2 separate regions of the Homo sapiens genome follow, and region 2 is linked to region 1. Evidence: promoter capture Hi-C in human tissues and cell types (Jung and others, 2019). All regions are on one chromosome and are shown on one strand. Each heading gives the region's core, a stretch centred on a gene start or on the middle of the fragment in contact. The rest is flanking DNA. Distances are from core to core; before and after follow the strand shown. Region 1 holds the start of ZSWIM4 (zinc finger SWIM-type containing 4). Region 2 overlaps CACNA1A (calcium voltage-gated channel subunit alpha1 A).

Region 1 (3,228 bases), core at 729-3,228:
TGAAATATTTTAGGCCGGGCGTGGTGGCTCACGCCTGGAATCCCAGCACTTTGGGAGGCCAAGGCAGGCAGATCATAAGGTCAGGAGTTTGAGACCAGCCTGCCAATATGGTGAAACCCCGTCTCTACTAAAAATGCAAAAGTTAGTCAGGCGTGGCGGTGGGTGCCTGTAGCCCCAGCTACTTGGGAGGCTGAGGCAGAATAATCACGTGAACCTGGGAGGCAGAGGTTGCAGTGAGCTGAGATCACTCCATCTCAAAAAAAAAAAAAGAAATATTTTTCCTTGTTCCCTTCCTGCTATGTCTCCAAAATCCACTCTGTATTTTACCTTTCCAGCACAACCTAATTTCAGCCAGTCCCATTTCAAGGGCTCAGAGACCACTTGTGGCCATTGGTGACCATACTGGACAGTGCAGGTCTGCAGGGGAGTTTAACTAATTGAGGGGGTGGCAGGGAGAGTGGGTGAAGACTGGCCAGAGGGTGCAGCTGTGAGACTCGAAGTTTCTCCAAGAAAAAGCTAGGGCTTCCATATGGATGAGTGGATAATCACTGTTTTTTTTTTTTTTCTGCTGTGCCTATCATTTAACTGAATGGAGGCAAAGCATGTGTTGGTTGGTACATTCAACAAGTTCTAGGTTAAGCGCCTACCTTCCAGGTGCTGCCGGTACAGTAAAGCACAGATGGGACAAACTCCTGCCTCCTGAGGCTCACAGTGGAGAGGGAGAGATTGAAATTAAGCAACTACCAAAGGTGGATCACTTGAGGTCAGGAGTTCAAGACCAGCCTGGCCAACATGGCAAAACTCCGTCTCTACCAAAAATACAAAAATTAGCCGGGCGTGGTGGTGGGCGCCTATAATTTCAGCTATTCGGGAGGCTGAGGCAGGAGAATCACTTGACCCCGGGAGGCGCAGGTTGCAGTGAGCCGAGATCGCACCACTGCACCCCAGCCTGGACGACAAGAGTGAAACTCCGTAAAAAAAAAAAAAAAAAAAAAAAAAAAAACCGCCGAAACAGATAAATAAATGGTAATGGTGAGAAGTATGAGGAAGGAAAAATGCAGGGTCCTCTGAGGACATTGGCAAGGAGCCGGGACGGGAACGGGTGATGGAAGCCATGGCCAGCTTCCAGGCCAGAGACGGTGGCCTACACAAGCTGAGTCAGAAAAAATGCTCAGAGGTGCTGGGGTTTGATTAAGTGTTAGGGTGAACCTCATGGAATTGCCATTTTAACAGGCCAAAAATGGTAAAAAAAAATTAGCAATTTCATATGACCCAAGATAGTATCTAGGGCATGGAAAGGAGGGGCGGGGTACTATACTAGTTTTGAGGCTCAAGGGATGACCTATGAACCCCCTAACCGAGCTTTGTTTCTGGAGAGGGGGTCCGCGGCCCGCATGAGCTCCCTCAGTGAGCCTGCGACCCCTCCGCCCCCACAAGAACCAAAACTTGACCCGGTGCCCAGAGAGGTTGAGTGAGTTTCTCGGGTCGCACAGCTGGGAGGGACGAGGGGCTGAGCCACTGCCAAGGGATCCCGCTGCTCTGTCTCGCTCACCGGCCGGGCTATGTTGATTGTCCCCTCGCGGCGCCCGGAAGCGACCCTCAGTAAACAAAGCCGTGTGTGGGCGCAGCCCCAGAAGCCTGGGGCGCGCAGTCCAGCCCAAGAGAGGCGGGGGAGGAATGTTGTGAATGAACCCCGGGCCCGCCCCGAAACTCCGCATAAGGCCTGGGCCGCGGGGGTCCTCCCACTCTGATTGGCCTCTGGCGCCCCGTGATTGACAGCGCCCCTCGCTGTGCGCTCTGGTTGGGTAAACAAGAAAAGACTGGCATCGCAGTCATCGAGTGAGCAGCGAGGCTTGGACACGGGTCTGGCGGCGCAGCCAATGGCGGGGGAGGGCCGAGGAGGCCGAGGGGGGGCCAATAGGGACAGGCGGTGGGGGCGGGACGACGGCGGAGCTAAAGCGGCGGCTGAAGCAGCTTCATTGTTGTGAAGAGTCTTAAAGGGGCCGCATCACCCTGCCGGCCCGGCGCGGGTCGGGGGTGGGTGCGGTAGGGGTCCCGGGGCGGCCGAGCGCAGAGGACGGACGGGAAGGAGGGCAGGGGGCGCGGGAGCCGGCGAAGCGGAGCGGGCATCGGACCGAGCCCCCCAAAGAGGCCCCGCCCCGGCCCTGGCCCCGGCCGGGCCGGATGGAACCCCCCGCGGCCAAGCGGAGCCGGGGCTGCCCCGCGGGACCCGAGGAGCGCGATGCCGGGGCCGGGGCCGCGCGTGGCCGGGGCCGGCCCGAGGCGCTGCTGGACCTCAGCGCCAAGCGGGTAGCCGAGAGCTGGGCCTTCGAGCAGGTGACCGCGGGGGAAGGGGGCGGGGGCAGGGACGCACCCCCAGCACCTTCCCCACCTGTCTTCTCCTCCCCCACAATCCCCAGACTCCAGAGCTAACCCAATCAGAGACACCCCCTGAGATTCCACCCCCAGGACCCTTAACCCTGCCTGGAAACACCCCCTCATCCTCCTGTTTCTGTCCTTCAAACCCAGTAACCCACCCCCATCCCTTCTCTGCCATCTCTGCCCCTCAGCGCCCCAGATCCCAAATCAGGACACTTCCTTCTTCTCCTACCAACCCCAGATCTCTGAGATCTGGCCCCCATGGCCCGCCTACAACCCTGGGCACCCCTCTTTTCCCGCCTTATCCCCCAACGGTACCCCTCTTTTCCCACCTTATCCCCCAACGGTACCCCTCTTTTCCCACCTTATCCCCCAACGGTACCCCTCTTTTCCTACCGCATCTTTATTCGCCAATCAGGGCACCCCATTCAGTCTTCAATCCTCTCTTCGGCCCCCCGCTTGGGGACACCCTGTCTCCCTCCATCGTAGCCTCTAGAGACTCACACTACCCCATTCCTGCTCTCCAGATCCCTACCGTACACCCCAAGTAAATAACTCCCCCATCTCTCCAGATTCCAGCTCAAGACACCCCTTTTTTCCCCATTCATTCCTGCCCTCGAGCCTCCAGATTCCACCTGTTCCTTGGGGACCCCTCTCTACTCCTCCAGATTCCTCTTTCGGGGCTGCCCGTCTTCTCCTGGCTTGCCGCAGGGATTACTGAAATGCCAGGGTCCCTCCTCCTCCCCACCTCATCCCCCTGACCTATCCTATCTCTTCCCATAGGAAAACAGCAGGGGCGGAGCCTGGGTGGTGGTCCCTGGACAGGTGCACCTAGAAGCTCTCTTCTGT
Region 2 (3,299 bases), core at 469-2,968, 450 kb before region 1:
TGAACCAGTGATTTATAGTCCAAAGTCTAATGCTTTGATTTTGGTCAAGACAAACATCTATGAATGAAAAAGGGCATGGGTCAAAGGTGATTCCAAACATTAGCAACCACTGGCCAGGGGACACGCATTTATTTATTTATTTATTTTTAATTATTAGGTTTTTTTTGAGACAGGGTCTGGTTCTGTCACCCAGGCTGGAGTGCAGGGGTGTAATCACAGCTCGGTGCAGCTTCAAACCCTTGGGCTCAGGCAATCCTCCTTCCTCAGCCTCCCGAGTAGCTGGGACTACAGGTACACACCACCATGCCCAGCTAATTAATTATTTTTCTTTTTTAAAGATGGGGTCTTGCTTTTTGACCAGGCTGGTTTTGAACTCCCGGTCTCAAGCAATCTTCCTGCCTCAGCTTCTCAAAGGGCTGGGATTCCAGGCGTGAGCCACCACGCCTGGCCAGGGACATGCATTTATGATCACAAATTAAACGCAGTTTTTCTGCTTTTCTAATTGACATTCACCAAAGGAGAGAAATAGAGAAGAAGAGAAACTCACAGAGAAAAGCACAAAGAAGGGTGAGGAGAAGGGAGAGAAGGAGAAGGAGGTGGAGAAAGAGAAGGAAGAGAGAGAGAGAACACAAGAATAAAAGAGACAAAGGCTGGGCATGGTGGCTCATGCCTGTAATACCAGCACTTTGGGAGGCCAAGGCAGGCAGATCACTTGAGGTCAGGAGCTCGAGACCAGCCCGGCCAACATGTTGAAACCCAGTCTCTGTTAAAAATACAAAAAATTGGCAGGCACAGTGGCTCACGCCTGTAATCCCGGCACTTTGGGAGGCCAAGGCGGGCGAATCATGAGCTCAGGAGATCGAGACCATCCTGGCCAACATGGTGAAACCCCGTCTTTACTAAAATACAAAAAATTAGCTGGGCGTGTTGGTGCATGCCTGTAGTCCCAGCTACTCAGGAGGCTGAGGCAGGGGAATCACTTGAACCTGGGAGTCAGAGGCTGCAGTGAGCCGAGATCACGCCACTGTACTCCAGCCTGGCGACAGAGCAAGACTCCATCTCAAAACAAAACAAAACCCCCCAAAATTAGCTGGGTGTGGTGGCACGCACCTGTAATCCCAGCTACTTGGGAGGTTGAGGCACAAGAATCGCTTGAACCCAGGAGATGGAGGTTGTAGTGAGCCGAGATTGCGCCACTGCACTCTAGCCTGGGTGACAGAGTGAGACGCTGTCTCAAAAAAAAAAAAAAAAAAAAAGAGAGACAAAGAGAGAGAGGGAAAAAGAAAGAGTCAGAGAGAGACGGATGAAGGGTGATGAATTGTGTCCAGAGCTGTGTGTGAACCCTGGCTTTGTCACTCTTGGCTAGGGGACCTTGGCAGGTCACGTCACCCTGTGGGCCTCCGTTTCCTCATCTGGAAGATGGGGTTAAAAATATCTTTCCTCACAGGGCTGTTTTACGGATCAAGACACAATGTAAAGCTGATGCCAGGCACACAGAAGCCCTCGGCTAAAGGCAGCCCCAAATTAACTCAAGACACCCTGGTCCTGCCAGGTCCCCAGCCCCTCCACATCCCCTCCTTGGGGGCAACCAAGAGAGGGTAGGTCCTGTACCCCATGAAGTGACCCCAATTTGCCTTGGCCCAGCTGGCAAAGAGGGGGTCAGGGACCTTCCCCTGTGAGAGTGGAGACAATTTCTGGCTTTTCTGAGCCACATGGGGCACATAGGGTGAGGGGGTCCCTGTGAAATGAGGCCACCTGTCACTAGAACAACACAGAGCCACCAGCTCTTGTCTCCAGCAAACAGTTTTGTTGCAGTACTCATGGGGTTCCCCATTCTATCCCCTTGAGCTCAGAGAAGCAGCCCTCAATCCTATTTGCTGTGGGAGGCTATAAATGGCAGAATCTGAGGATGTTGACACTGAGTGAGACAGAGCTGAATTCTGACTCTCAATCGCTGTGCACAGCTCTGGGACTCAGTTTCTTCATCTGTAAAATGGGGATATTAAAGGCCCTAGCTCAGAGAGTTTTATATTTTTACCATCAAGGAATCCCAGGCTGATGCCTAGGGAAGTAGCCAAAACAGGGTGGCACAGAGGAAGTGGCTGATCACCCATCTTGATTCCACAAGGCTACCCAGAGCCTTCTCTGGCCCAGGAAGGTCCAGGGAAGAGGCCCGTCTAGTGGGCATGGGAGCCATGTGGATACCTTGGAGCTTCCAGGTCAAGAACAGAGATGGGCTATGTTGATGGAGGTTTGTTTTGTAGCAGTTAGAAGTGAGTTGGACCTCACTTTTGGCACAGAATTTCCAGTAAACCTGCATTTGTAGTCCTTGGGTATGGACAGAAACTCACGCCATCCCAAAGCTCTTAGGGGGTAGGTTCATCTTGAGGCCCAGCCAGTACCCCAATCCTCCTTCCTCTGAGAGGCCTGGCCTCCTAGAGCAGAGCCTCTCAACCTCAGTACTACTGACATTTTGGGCTGGGTAACTGGTTGTGATGGGGGCTGAGCCAGACACGGATGGTGAGAACTCCAGTTACCTGCTAAACTATCACCTCTTCTGAGGGGTTTTCTAGCCACAGTGACTGCGGAAGGCACTGGCAAGATTCTCTCAGTTTCACCTTGGGGAGGAAACACTTAGGGGTCTGTGGACAGAATTCAAGGAGTTCGTGAATTTAGATAGAAAATAATTACCCCTTTACTTCCTCTTACTTTCACTGGAAGTGGAACATTTTCTTCCATGATGATTGGAGGTGGCAAACCGCAGAATCAGTGACCCCCATTACCAACAGAAATCACATATAGTTCACAGATATCATGCAAAGTCTTTTAAGCTTAATACTCCCATGAAATCCCAAGACTTATCCAACCCATCGCTGGGACTTGTTGTTGATGTGTTATGAAGAATCACATCTCTTAAACGACATCACAACTCCTTAAAAAAAAATTCTGGGCTGGTCACAGTGGCTCATGCCTATAATCCCAGTGACTCTGGAGGCTGGGGTGGGAGGATCACTAGAGGCCAGTAGCTCGAGGACAGCGTGGGCAATGTGTGAGAACATGTCTCTACCAAAAAAATACAATTAGCTGGGCATGATGGTATGTGCTTACAGCCCTAGCTATTCAGGAGGTTGAGGTGGGAGGATCGCTTGAGACCAGGAGTTTGAGCTGCAGTGAGCTATGATTGCATCATCGCACTCCAGCTTAGAAGACAGAGCAAAACCCCAAAAAACTGGGATTAGGAGTTTTTGGGAAGAACGCTATATAGGCATAAAATCAAGGGTTACATAATATCCACATCC

What was found. Contacts are between HindIII fragments. The study calls those that stand out against the background at their distance.
Region 2: a contact is called between a fragment that was not itself captured here and the fragment with the promoter of ZSWIM4 in region 1, in 1 of the 25 tissues and cell types used here (lymphoblastoid cells).

What each region holds. Positions count from the first base shown.
Region 1 is chr19:13,793,465-13,796,692 of GRCh38, forward strand. It overlaps ZSWIM4 (zinc finger SWIM-type containing 4), which reads left to right and starts at 1,979. Exons shown (of 14, transcript NM_001367834.3): 1 at 1,979-2,337. The coding sequence starts at 2,185. RefSeq lists silencers at 1,613-2,102, 2,123-2,332 and an enhancer at 2,573-2,642. The HindIII fragment of the contact is 5,751 bases long and covers 1-3,228 here.
Region 2 is chr19:13,347,773-13,351,071 of GRCh38, forward strand. The region is part of intron 6 of CACNA1A (calcium voltage-gated channel subunit alpha1 A); the gene reads right to left. Among named protein-coding and RNA genes, the nearest start is that of CACNA1A, 160 kb to the right of the region's middle. The HindIII fragment of the contact is 8,117 bases long and covers 1-3,299 here.